Regions from separate parts of the Homo sapiens genome. Here regions 2, 3, 4 and 5 are each linked to region 1. The links are contacts of gene promoters, found by promoter capture Hi-C in blood cells and fetal thymus (Javierre and others, 2016). All regions are on one chromosome and are shown on one strand. Each heading gives the region's core, a stretch centred on a gene start or on the middle of the fragment in contact. The rest is flanking DNA. Distances are from core to core; before and after follow the strand shown.

Region 1 (2,700 bases), core at 201-2,700:
AAGATCTGGTTATATTATCACATTTAATGGATTCACCTTATCAGAGAGAGCAGTTGAGTTCATATTACCTGATCTCCACACTTACCAAGCAGACACACATTATGCAAGGGTTGTCTGTGATAAATGGAATCTGGAGGACTTCACCTTCATTTTCACATTTTGCAACAGAACCTGAAATTCAGGGGGGAAAAATGTTTCATTTAAAGTTAGCTTAGCAGCATGATTTCAACATTTAAAATTTTTACACTAATCCTTTTTGAAACCTCTACCCAAACTTCAGAATTCTTAATGTGGTTTAAATTATTAAATTCACCAAAGCAAAACCTCTGCCCCCAACTCCATTTTCAATAATTTTATTTAAACAGGTTCAAAAAAGAAAAGACTATGATATAGGGATAAATTATCTGTTCTCAGATGGTCTAAGCACAATTCCAAGTATTTCACTGGATTTTTAATAACACTCCTCCTTTATGAAGATATTTCAACTAAGCACACAGCCCCATACGCAAAGAAAAAAATAAAAAATAAAATTTAAAAAAACCCTCAAATTGGGGCAGATTTTAAATTGACCAAAACTCAGAACTGAGTCAATAAACAGGCCTTTCTATGAATCTGTCTCGCATTGTCTTAGGTTTAAATCACTTTTTGAAACGCAATCCCCTTTTCCCTTCTCTTAGAAATTGACTCCATATTTTCTTTTCTGCACCAGGTGTCAGTAAAGTATGTCCTTCAGAATAGCAGCTGAGGTCTTCACCTGCCTGAAAACATATAATTATTATATCCGGCTATTAGTGCCCTTTTTAAATGATAGTTTCTTTAAATTCAAGGTCTTGAGAGCCAGTGCTTTAAAAAGCACTCCTAGCACAGTGGATGTATTGCAACCCCAAAGATGAGAAAGGAAGATGTGCGGAAAACTGCACAAATTTTTTTCCTGAGTTCTACAGAGGGAAAGATTAAAATAAAAGTTGAGGAAAGCATTAAAAATAAATAAAATAATTTCTCAAATTCAAATAGAAGAATGTCTATTATTACTACATTGAAGGCAACAGCCTCTCAGCCCGCAACCTCTTCACCAGCCTTCCCAGCCCTCCCGGGGCTTCGCTTCATCCCCATCGACCAGCGCAGGGCAAGCGCCAAGGTGCGCGCTCCCCACCCTCCCATCCCCGGGGCAAGCCAGCGCCACCTTTCCCAGGTACCAAACCGGCGTCCCGGAGGGCCGGTCCCTCCCGCCCCCTCCCCTACCTGTCAAGAAGGAGGAAGCCAGAGACATGGGGACCCCCGAGCAATTGAGTAGCAGCAAGACGCAGCACGTAATCCCAGGCGAGCGGCGGCAGTAACGCTCAGCCAGAGCCCCGACGCCGGAGAACCAGAGCATCGTCACCTGGAGGGAATCCCTGGCGACTGCAGGTCCCGCGCCGCCGCCTCTGCTCAGCTGCCGCAGCTCACAGTCGAAAAGGGCTCTCAGCCGGCGTGTCGGGAGACCGTCCGCGAAGGAGGGAGGCGGGCGCCCGAGAGCTGGGGGGCGGGGGGGTGTGAGGGAGGGCGGGGGGAGAGACCAAGGTGTGGGGGCGCCCGGGGAGGAGGGGTCCTGCGGCCAGGCTCCTCCGATGCGGCTTTTTTTTTTTTTTTCCTGAGGGAGTTGCTTGCAGTGGCTTAGCAGTCAGCCCCTCAGCGCCGGAGAGGGGGCCAGGAGGAAGGGGTGTTGCGGCAGCCGGAGATAGACTGAGAGGAGCTGCGGCGCTGCCGACTGCGCACTGCCGCTCAGCCGCCGCCCGGGCTGCCGCTACTGTTTCGGGGGCTGTCGCTGTCGCTGCCGCAGCGTCCTCCACTCCCGCACTCCTCACCTCCTGCCAGCCCCGCCGGCTCTCGGCCCTCCCGGAGCGCGCTCGCTCCGCCGCAACAGACGTGGGCTCACCGGGCGCCTCCCGGAACCCGCTGGGGGCGCCCGGGCGCAGGAGGGACTGCGCGATAGCTGCAGCGGGAACTCTCTCGGCCCAGCTTCCAGTTCCCCAGCCCCTCCAGGGAGGCCAGGGCCCCAGGGCGCGGACCAGAGCCGAGAAGGCGCGTCTCCACTGTCCGGGCGAGCGCGGCTCCTCCTCCCTTTCTTGGGGGAGCCCCGGGGATGCCGCAGCACTAGCGCTCAGGCCCGGGTGCCCCAATCCAGCGAGGGAGCAGCAAACGGGACGCAGGGGCGCCCCACCACCCTGCTCGCTCCCGGGTGCCCCACCTTTGGGAAGGAGCGACACACCCGGGGCAGTAGGGCCCCCGCAACTTTTCATGCCCTGCTTTGCTTCCCTCTGGCGGGGGCGCGACAGCGAACTCAGGGGGCTGAGCGGACAGAGGGGCAAGTGGCCTTAGAGATGTGTTCTGTGCTTAGCTGTCTGCGCGTCCTGACACTAGGGATGACCGAAGTTGAAACACACACAAGGTCGATTTAAAAACGTACCGAGGCAAACGCCTTTCGTCCTTAAAAAATGAACAGTCGCTCCGAGACTCCTCCCTTCCAATCTCGGGCGGACCGGGGCGGGGAGGTGGTGTTTGACTAATCATTCATTCACCCGAAAAGAGGGAGGAACCCCCGCCCCACCGCTCATCTCTGGCGGGGGCCGCCGCGCGGCGGCCTCTGCAGCTCGGAGCTCCGTCGCTCTCTCAGCCCGGCTGCGCCCTCTCGCCTCTGCAGCACTGGGTGTCGGGGAGTCA
Region 2 (2,700 bases), core at 201-2,700, 550 kb after region 1:
TATATATGTAAATAAATGTTTTCTATATAATTATTAAGCATATTAAAAGGTTTTTCTTATAAGATTCTCTATTGGCAAGGTTTGGGGTACTGGACGCCTTTATTCAAACATTGTTGTTAGGGTTAACTGGTATTCCTTAAGGAAGTCAATTTCACACTATATTTCAGAAGTTTTAAAAACATTCTGATTCTCTGTCTCACCCAGCAATTCCACTTTTAAATATTCATCAAATAAACTATAATAAATTTGAAGAAGTATTGTTACAACAGTGTTCATCACAGGTATATTTACAATATTAATAAACTAAAAACAACGTAAATATCTAAAAGTATAATGCTGGTCAAATGATTTTATAGTATGGATTTATGAGAGAATACTATGTAATCATTAAAATCATATATCAAAAATATCTAATGGTGTAAAAAGATGTCTCAAAACAGAATGACAAGTGAAATTCTTTTTGGGGATAAATGCTTAGAAAAAATATTTATTTAAAGATTAGAAAAATGTAATGAAACAGAAAAAGGTATTGCTGGATAGTAGAATTACTAGTAACATTCACTTTTTTCCTTTTGGTTATCCACATTTTCTAAATTTCACATTTCTTTTGTAATAAGAAAAATTAAAGCTATTTTAAATATACCTATATTTGTTCACAGAAAGAGAACTGGAATAAACAAATGGGAAGACATGTAGAGTAAAAGTTGTTTTATTTCTTCTCTATAAAGCTCATTAATTTTGCTTCTTTCAGTTAAAAAAAACAGACACAGAAGATTTGCAATGGCAACTTTATCTAAGTCTTACTTTTATCAGAGTGAAGTGATACTTATTTTAAACAAGCACATGATTCCATCCAGCATGTTTAACATTAATACAAATCCAGGAATTTTTTAAAAACCACTCTATATCATATATATTGGATCCCAGAAGAAATTTTTAAAAATTTGTCATTGTGTCCCATTCCTAAAGTGAGTAAGAAGCAAATATATGCTGATGAGCATAATGACATCAAAACAATTGAGCCCAAAATCAGGAGGAAAATGGATAAGTCATCTAAGCTTTCTTTAGTACACACTATACAATTCGTATCTTATGGACTTTACCTTTCTGCTCAAAGGCATGTGTTTTTATTCAATTCTAATTGGGTTGCATTTATCTACAGTAAAGATCAACCCTTCCTCAGAAGTCAGGTGTTTAAACGTTTTTCAAAGCCACCAATAAATTTGGTGTTCAACATATAATTTCCAACTATGTTCCTAAGGTAGTATAGGAGACCCAAGAAACTAATAAGTTTATACAAGATGTTACAAAAGGTAGTGAGTCTGTTTTTTTCATAATCCAAGTTTGTTACAAGAAAACTGACTAAAAAATAAGGAGGTAAAAGAAGAGATGGGAGAAAGAACCCAAAAGGTAAAAAATATTTTGCTAACAATATATACATATATATCTCCAAACTCAATTCACACTTAAGAATAGAATAATTGTAGTAAAATATTTAATCTTGGAGATTTTTCAGAGTTATATATAAATAAAATTTTTGAAATACTGCAAATTAATAAAAAATAAATTTTAAGCACTTTAAGTAGTTAATAACACAAAAGTTGACTTACCATAAATTTCTAAACCTTGTGAGAAGTATTGTTTGTATCCTAAATCTTATCCACTAATGCAAAGGTGAAGATGCATCTCCTAGCCAACAGTGCTGATTTTTAATGAAGGATTTAAAAGGGTTGATTTAATTCCAAGATTTTATTCTTCAATTCTACCCCACCATCAAGAAAATTAATGACATGACACACTAAAAACCTTGGTTACTAAGGATGTTTGATCCAAAAAAGCTTCTTTAGTTTCTAAGCCACTCAGAAAGAAAAACTGACACTTCTCTCCAAGTCATACCATCACAAATTACCCCAAATGTTCACTGTGATATTGAAGCATTAAATATGAAACCCTTCTAAACAACCAGAAGCACAGGATGCACACCCTCTAGCTGCTGTAGACAGCAGAATAAAACAGTACAAAGAGCATCTACTTATAAGATTACTTTTCAGAGACATAAGAATATACTTTAAAAGGTACACATACAAAAGCCTACAATGAAAATAATAAATATTTATACACTTAGAAGACAGATATATCCAAAAACCTACCATAAAGATGAATAATAAATATTTACATTCCAAGCCAAAAAAATTCAGTCTAAAGAGAAACACTTGATTTTTATTTCTGAATACCATAGCAAAATAATTATTATGATAATTTTAATCAAACTTAAAAGGAATACCTTATTACCTTGTTGATATAAGCTATTCACCTTTGAACAGGCAAAGGAGGGAAAAATCCTTGAGGCATTTTTATACTCTTACTTAACAATTATCTGATAATTACCCCATCATTATCTGCTGATGAAGGATTCCATTCTAAATTCTTAGCATTTTTGATGCTGCAGGCATGTTATTTCAACAGTCTTACCTGGGAAGAGACTAAGAAGACTGACTGGAGATTTGTTGGTATCAATAGTAATTTTGTGGCTTGCAGTTTTTGAAGGCTGACCTGGTAGGCAAATTAACTTTAGGGGAAGTCTAAATTTACATTGGATAACTCGCGGAATGCCTAAAATAAAAGAGAGATATGTAGATTCATAGACTTGACAAATAATTTGGCAAAAAAAAATTGTACTACTAATAGTTTGAGCAGCAA
Region 3 (2,700 bases), core at 36-2,535, 600 kb after region 1:
TTCCTCACCTCTTCTTAGAAAGGATCTTTGTCTGGTTCAGGTCTGCTTAGCCATTGGATTTCAATATGTCAGAAAAACTTTCCCTCACTTCACATTCTAGGCCAGGTCCCCTGTTATATGCTCCCAAAGTGCCAGCTACTATTCCTTCACAGTACTTCTCACTGTTGGAATGATATGTTTATTTGAGCAATTATATATTTAATCTTGGTCTCTCCCACTACAAGTTCCATGAATTCAGTGACCATGACTGCTTTGCTCATGAATATATCCCCAGAATCTAGCACAGTGGCTGGCATAGAGAAGGGGGTTAAATAAGCACTTGCTGAATTAATTAAATGCAAAAAGCCAAATAAGTCTTTCTTGTGGGGACTGTCTCATGTATCACAGGATGTTTAGCAGCATTCCAGGCCTCTACCAGTAAATACAAAAAACAAACAACACTTCCTGCTCCGGTTATGACATTCAAAAATGTCCCCAGGCATTGCCAAATGTCCCCTGGGGTAGGGAACTGCTCCCAGTTGGGAACCAGGGAGCTAGTATAGCCATATATCCTGGTTGCACAAGGCAGTCCCTTTTAATGCCTGTTATCCTGGTAAAATTATTAACAGAATCCCCTTTTACTCTCAGAAATATCCCAATTTGGATGAATATTATATTGTCATCCTATCCATGGCCCATCTGGATGTGTTTTGGCTCTTGCCCAGAATGAGTGAATTGTTATACACATAATGACCATGGTTTCACTTCCAACATAGAAGAAATTATAACATTTCCAACAAGTGTGTTTTTTTTAAAAATCTATATAGTAGGCTTTGGAATTAGTAGAAATAGTGTAATGACAATGAACAGAAAAAACAAGACAAAGATAGAAAAAATAATACTACATGACGATTAAATGTAGAAAAACAATGACAGAAAGAAATCAAAGATGATTCCTAAGTGTTAGCCTGGGAAAGCTGGGTATGAAGCCATCTATCAAGATTAAACACACTGTAGGAGGAGGGCTGAATTTTGTGGGGTGATTGAGGAGGCAAGGCAAGCAAGCTTGGATTTTGAGACAGCTACTCAACACTAAGGTGATACCCAGCAGACACTGGAAAGTACAGGTCTTGCAGACACACAGATATTTGTTGTGATATGTGCCCCTTTTTTGGCTCCGATGCCACTGGACTTAACTCTCTTGCTTCTCTACCTTCTCTAGTTTCTTTTAAGATCTCTTCATCCTGCCTCCTAATTATGAGAATCCCTAAATATTCTACTCAGACCTTTCTTCTTCCCATGCTCCACTAACTCCCTGAGAATTCAATGCTATATTAGCTACTAATTCTGCACTGACAGGTGCCAGCCTAACCCCTAGTCTGTAACCTCCAATACCACATGGCCGGATCCTTCTAAGTATTTCCACTTGAATTATATTAACTTACATGAGTATGAGTATTTTCAGTTTAAAAGGGACTTTCATATACATTTATTTCCATCTATGTACCTCGGTCACCATACATTCAACAGGCTGGAAACCAAGCTTTTCTTTCTCAAAAACCTGGTCCCTTTTCCTACCTTCTTATTTCTTATAATATCACTATAATTAACCCATCACCTCTGTTCCAAAGAATAACAATAATTCTTTTTCTGCTTCATGCCCCTATATAAAAAGTCACCAAATCAATTTATGTACTTGCTTCTTGAGTTTCCTCATTTCTAAAATGAAGCAGTTAAACTACTTCTAGCTCAAATGTGTTATAATTCAAAGTCTTGGAAATCTTGGGTTCATTCACCAGTCAAACGTGTTATAATTTGAAGTCTTGGAAATCTTGGGTCCATCCTTCACTCAAACGTGTTATAATTTGAAGTGTTGGAAACCTTGGGTTCATTCACCACTACCTTAGTCTAGGCTAGTGATTCTCAATCCTATTGCATATTAGAATCACCTAAGAATCTTCTTTTAACTACTTCTATGTAATCCTCCTGCAATCCAGGCATCAGTTTTATTTAAAGACCCCCTACTCCAGTGATTCTAATGTCATCAAGACTGAGAACCATAGATCTAAGCCCTCATTACTGTCACCTACATTTTGCAGATGAGAAAACTCAGGCTCAGAGAAGTGACAGATTGGCTCAAAATTTCATAACTAATAAATGAACCAAGCTCACTCTGATTCCAAAGTCCATATTCTTTCCTTGTGCCAAAAAGCAACTGGTACTTAAAAATACAATCTATACCAATTGATATAATATTTGTTTTTACGTTGCTTTAAAAATGCTTCATTTTCTTTCATATGTGTATAGTTGGTGGCTCCTAAGAGGCCATAAGTGAGAGGTGGAGTCTTCTCATTTGCCCCATAGAAGCTACGTCAGGATTGAGGAACAATAAGTACAAAGTCTATTTTTAAAACACTGTTCATAAAGTACTGATGTGGGTTTGCATTTTCAAAATTCCAAGGAGAGATCTATTCATCTCTTGAAAACTGCCACAATCATTTAAGTAAGCTGTCAACTGACTGAGATGGAGAATCATTATGGTACAAAGTTCAGTAGGGAAATACAAATCCTAGGTACAGAACTGTGATGGATAGTGCTCTCCTATACCTCTACAAACACAAGCTGCCAAACATCAGACCGTTAGTGAATAACCAGATCTTCTGAACAGACACCTTAGCAATGATAACATGTTAGTACACTCCAGTAAAAGCAATGAATTTC
Region 4 (2,741 bases), core at 221-2,720, 620 kb after region 1:
CTTATGTTATCAAAAAAAATCACTTTTTCCCATTTCCCTTTTATATTACAGTAAGCAACTAAGAAAATATAAACTTTTTCCTCTGGGAAACAGAGATACAGAGATATTTCTCTTTTTTTATTCTGGTGATAACTCAGATTTTTGCACTCCAAAGCTAGTTCTAAAAAACAGGCCATACACCAGTTAACAGAATAAAGGACTAAGTCCATCCAAAGTTCTAAAGTTCAAAGTACTTCTGCAAAGAGCTTAGCCGCATATAAACTTTATGTTACTGCCCCCCACACACAAATAAATCACTTTTTCTCTTTTATATTCTACAGTAAGTAACTAAGAAAACACAAACTTTTTCCTCTGGGAAATAGAGCTATTTCCCAGAATTCTCAGGAACCCATAAAAATAAACTCATTCTATCTTTGAAACCAGAGAGTCAAATTTCAGTTATCAGGAGGACCCACTATCTGAAGTAAGGAGAAAAAAATGTTAAATCACATGTGTTTTCTAAGAAAAATGAACGGCAAAGTCACTAACCTGATAGAAATGATCTCCGGGACCAAAGGGCCAAGAAGGTATGTGCTTAGTGAAAGGCAAACCCTTCATAACTAGTGAAAAGCAAACACTTTCCTTTTGGCTACAACCCTACTGCAACTGAATCCCCCATATATCAATTATGGGATACAGAATGAGGAACCCAAAACACAAAAGGATTTTTCCTACCGGTATAAATTATTTTCTTGGAGATTGAGAGTTTCATTTTTAAGAGATGTTCACAGTCTTGATGACAGTACTTCTAAAGAAGTTTTTCAGTGGAAACATGTGGTAATAAGTAGAATTCTACCATTGAAACATTTAATTTATAAAACAGAAAATCATAAACCCAACTGGCATTCTAACTGCAACTACTTATCCTTGGCTATACAGTGTTTCTAAAATCTCTGCCAGGCAAATTAAATAGACTTACTATGGAATGTAACAAAATCAAACAATCTGGAACTGTAATTACTATGATATTGTTTATAAGAATGGAGGATGCTGTGTTTTACATTATTACATTAAAAATAAAATGATCATGAAAACATGAGCCAAGCAGAAGATATCTAACTTTTCCTAAGGAGAATTTTTCTGAGAATTATAACCTTGACTGACAAATAAAAATAAAGATATGGCTTTTTAATTTATTTAATGATTCCTACAAGGTCTTTTCCATGTGAATAAAACACTTATCAAAATAGCCATACTACAGTTTATGAAAGTAGTGTACCAAATGACAGGCCATACCTCAATAATGGTTTAGCCACATGGCTATAAGGACATTATAAGCACAATTCTTGTGCTTCTCCATTTTAAGCCCCATCAATATAATATCTAGGGGTCATCTCATAAAGACCTTTTATCTGACACAATGGAAATATATGCATGCATGTAACGATGACCATCAAAAATCATGCAACTAATTTTACCCCCAAAATCCTTCAATGAGATTGACATAATTTGTCCAAATTATGTTTACTGAGGTACCAATAGTAAGAGGAAGAAAAAATATACGAACTATGACATAATTCTGTTCCTTCATCCCCCATAACTCATGTTAAGTTACAGTATACCACAATGCAATAGCAGATTCATTAGGCCCTAAACCAAAGCTCTCCTCTTTTGATAGGAACCCATGAAAGCCAAGAGTTCTGTCACTCTACCTAACATTTCTGATTATAAACTCACTGCCCCATCTGATTCAGAATTCCAAGTTCTATATGAACCAGAAAACTGTACAGACATCTGTTAGTGACCTATGATTGAAGCAACATATTTTATAACTACCCTCTTGAATCTTTCCAACCTCTACCACTGCCCGTGGCCCCTCTACACTATCTATTGACTTCTAAACAAAGGTAGCAAATTCTATAAAATTGTCCAAGTAAAGAACAGAGATTAATAATGGCATATTATATACTCAGAGATAAAGCCCCAAAATAAACACTATAAACATGTTTCAAAGTAAGATGTACTTGGTACTAGTGCCTCATGGGAATTGTAACTTGGCATATACTACACTGGTTAAGAGTAGCAAAGATACAGGAGGTAGGAGGGAAGTGGCTGGGAGAAAGACAGTACCTCAGCAGACTAAAAAAATCTTCCACTGTAGACATAGAAAAGACCAAAACCAGTGCCGTGGTTTCTCAAAACTGATATGGAACACAAATTTTACACACTTCCACAGAAAACAGAGAAAACAAATGACAAAGAAATGAAAATTATGAGGAAAAAGAGAGCAGATATTGGGAACAGAAAATAAGTAGCCAACCAAAAGATATTAGTTTTCCTGAAGGACAGATTAAATCAAACAAAACTGAAGAAATAATCAAAGATATAACATAGGAAACCTTTCTTCAGCAGCAAAACAAATGGTTTAAACAGATTAAATTCACTACATTCCCAATAATATCAAGGAAAATATCATCATACAGATATATGGTGGCAAGTGTGGCATTTACAGAAAAAATGAAAAACATTCTACAAGCAATCAAACATAAAGAACTGATTACCTACAACAAAACAAAAATCAGGTTGTCCATGGATTTCTCCTCAGCAACAATAAAGACTGACAAAGACTTGAATTCTAATCAAAGATAATACAGCAAAACTTACCAAAAACAGCAGAAAGTACTACAATAACTACCACCTCCCAAAAAAAGGAAATTGAATGAGGAAATGACTACAGTCACAATCAACAAACTTTGAAGCCT
Region 5 (2,700 bases), core at 117-2,616, 570 kb after region 1:
CTGTCCATGAAACATTAACAACAAAAGCACTTTCTTAAATAAAATACGTTTTCAGAAGCCATAACATACAAAGTAGACATAAAGACCTTGTGTGCTAAAGAGCAATACTGTTTTTACAAATATGATTTTAATTAAGCCTAGAGGAGAAAATTAACAAATACACAAAATAATATCTATCTACAAGATAATATGAATTTCATAATGAATACTAAAATAATAAAAAGCTGCAAATGAGATACCTTGTGATTTGTTAACATCTTTGATGATTTTCTGAAGTTCTTTCATTTCTACATCAAGTTCATCATAGTTTAGTTCTCGAGATTGAACGTTTGGAGCTTGGAACAGAGAAGGATCTGTCCCCAGGTATGAACACTGCAAGTGACCATCATCACTCAGAGTGACTATCACTCCCTTTAAATCACTACAATAAGGAAGAGAAAATGAGACATAATTTTAAATTTCAGTAGAGTTAGTCTTGACCAACTACATTTTTACTCAATTCAGCATCAACACACCATTAAGAAAATAACTATATATCTATTTCTAAAGTTTTACTTCAAAGACTCAATTCAAATGTTTCAAACACGATTTGTATTTACAGAAGTATTCCCAATGTTAAGGTCCACTAAGGCCGGGAAAAAAGCTTAATTATTATAATAGCTACCACTTTTGGGGACCTAACTACAAAGCAAATCCTGCTCTAAGAGCATTTTAAGTACTGTTTTTAATCCTCCTTCCAGCTACTACTTGGCATTTCCGTAATAAGCATGTGAACAACACTTTGGAGGTACAATGGACCAAGAGATGGAGCGGGGCTGCTGGCTGGCTGAAGACCAGGAAGGAGGCACAGGAGTGAAGACAGGACAACCCAGGGGACAGAAAACCAACGAAGTTGATGTGGGAAGCCATCGGAGGTCTTGCGAAAAAAAAAGTGCCCCCGGTCTTTCCTCATCCTTTTCCCTCTCTACCCTTAGGATTCATGTTTGCCCTCTTTCCCAGGTCCTCCCATCACAGCTTCCTTCACACGCTCTCCTATTCAAGTGGCCCTCTGGTTTGTTCTCTCTTTCTCTTCACTTTTAGCTAGAAGCAGCCAATTGTCCCATTTACTAGCTCTTTCTCTATCACTCTTCTCATCCTCATTATCTTTTTTATTCCCCATTCTTTCACTCTTCCTTCTCTCTTAGGCTCCCTGAGGTCTGTTTTACTCTAGAAACTAGCCATAATATATAAATTAAGGATAATTTTAGCACACAATTTTTTTAAAGTTGTTTTTGTGAACATGTCATAAAAAGTAGCTGAGATGAATACTGTATTTGCTTCCTCCCTAAGTTTGCCATAAAAACAAAAAAATTCAACATCGTGATAAGCCATTTTGAGTTGATACATAATGGATTTGTTTGACTCACTTTTGTTTGTTAGGTTTTCTACAGAAACTTTTGATTTTTTTTTAAAGTATTTTCTACTTGGTTCTAAAGGTTAGATATTAATCAAAAATAATAAATTGGGCACAGTAGCACAAGCCTGTACTCCCAGCTACTTGAAGAGGCAAAGAATCACTTAAGCCCAGGAGTTTGAATCCAGCTTGGGCAACATAGCAAGACCTTGTCTCTAAAAGTAAACAAAAATAGAAAAATTGTGAGAGAAAAGAAGATGTTTAAATGTTGCTATTCATCTGAAGAAGAGAAAAGGACATAAAGTATATAACAGATAAGGCATGTAAGAGTCTAGGATTATTTAGAATGAACAAAAATGTTTAAAACTCCCCAACAGTGGATCATGGCAGGTAGTCATTTCATTAATCTAAAAGCTCAACTGGGTTGGGAGTAGATACTACCATTGCTCAGTTCTGCCCATAAGATGGTCACCAGCATCCACTTCACCACCTGCCTTAAACACAACATTCCAATACACATCATCTCCAGGACTCAGGCATAGTCAGTGACATGCAACCCTGTCATATTACTTGAGAGGAATAAAAAATAGATTGTTGTCACTGGTTCAACAGCTAAAGAACTAGACTAGGACGCAGGAGACTTGAGTCTGGCTCTGATGCTGCTCCTGTAGAGCTCAGTCAACTTGGGAAAGCTTTCCTAAATATTCTTTATATGTAAAATGAGAAGGTAAGACTAGATAATCCTCAAAAACTTTAAGTTTTATCAATTGCTTCTGCCATCTACCCCTCAGAAAACAAATAGTCCAAAAATGGAATGATCTTCTTAAAGTATGAAAAGCAACCCCAGAGTACCTTTGGGTTTGAACCTTTCTTTGCAGGTAACTGAAGCCATCTAGTGGCCATGGAAATCCCAACTTTCAGCTCTGACAAGCCCATTTCAAGAGAGCAAATCTTCCCTTCCCTCTGAGTTGTGACTGTAGTCTGTTCCGCATTCTAGCTAGCCCCACTAAGCCCTACGAACCCAATGAGTCCTCAGGCAACTCTAGGGTGCTAAAGCGCAGACCTCTGGGGGGGGCTTCTCAGAGAATGTGAGATTCATCAGTTCTTTGAATTCAAACAGGCATTTCCATTTCATCTTCATCCTTTGAACAGTCCATCATACAGAAAAGCTAGCATTACCCAATACAAGTATTCCTCCTTATCTAAATTGAGTTGGTCTTTGAGTTGAAAGGTTTATTACTAAATCAGTTTTATTCCATCAATTTAGATAGCAAATGGCAACAATTTAGATACAAGCCATTTATCTA

Evidence for each region. The method cuts DNA at HindIII sites, captures the fragments that hold promoters and counts their contacts. A CHiCAGO score of 5 or more calls a contact.
Region 2: a contact is called between a fragment that was not itself captured here and the fragment with the promoter of BMPER in region 1, in 1 of 17 cell types (endothelial precursors). The highest score is 5.5, in endothelial precursors.
Region 3: a contact is called between a fragment that was not itself captured here and the fragment with the promoter of BMPER in region 1, in 1 of 17 cell types (endothelial precursors). The highest score is 5.2, in endothelial precursors.
Region 4: a fragment that was not itself captured here is called in contact with the fragment with the promoter of BMPER in region 1 in 1 of 17 cell types (M2 macrophages); the score reaches 6.7 in M2 macrophages.
Region 5: a fragment that was not itself captured here is called in contact with the fragment with the promoter of BMPER in region 1 in 1 of 17 cell types (endothelial precursors); the score reaches 7.5 in endothelial precursors.

Annotation. Positions count from the first base shown.
Region 1 is chr7:33,904,289-33,906,988 of GRCh38, reverse strand. BMPER (BMP binding endothelial regulator) reads right to left here and starts at 1,450. Exons shown (of 15, transcript NM_001365308.1): 1 at 1,243-1,450; 2 at 86-171. The coding sequence starts at 1,375. The HindIII fragment of the contact is 6,002 bases long and covers 1-2,700 here.
Region 2 is chr7:33,357,768-33,360,467 of GRCh38, reverse strand. BBS9 (Bardet-Biedl syndrome 9) reads right to left here. Exons shown (of 23, transcript NM_198428.3): 16 at 2,473-2,613. Among named protein-coding and RNA genes, the nearest start is that of BBS9, 230 kb to the right of the region's middle. The HindIII fragment of the contact is 780 bases long and covers 1,061-1,840 here.
Region 3 is chr7:33,308,449-33,311,148 of GRCh38, reverse strand. The region is part of intron 9 of BBS9 (Bardet-Biedl syndrome 9); the gene reads right to left. Among named protein-coding and RNA genes, the nearest start is that of BBS9, 180 kb to the right of the region's middle. The HindIII fragment of the contact is 478 bases long and covers 1,047-1,524 here.
Region 4 is chr7:33,284,227-33,286,967 of GRCh38, reverse strand. The region is part of intron 9 of BBS9 (Bardet-Biedl syndrome 9); the gene reads right to left. Among named protein-coding and RNA genes, the nearest start is that of BBS9, 160 kb to the right of the region's middle. The HindIII fragment of the contact is 4,857 bases long and covers 1-2,741 here.
Region 5 is chr7:33,334,162-33,336,861 of GRCh38, reverse strand. It overlaps BBS9 (Bardet-Biedl syndrome 9), which reads right to left. Exons shown (of 23, transcript NM_198428.3): 10 at 240-421. Among named protein-coding and RNA genes, the nearest start is that of BBS9, 210 kb to the right of the region's middle. The HindIII fragment of the contact is 1,442 bases long and covers 646-2,087 here.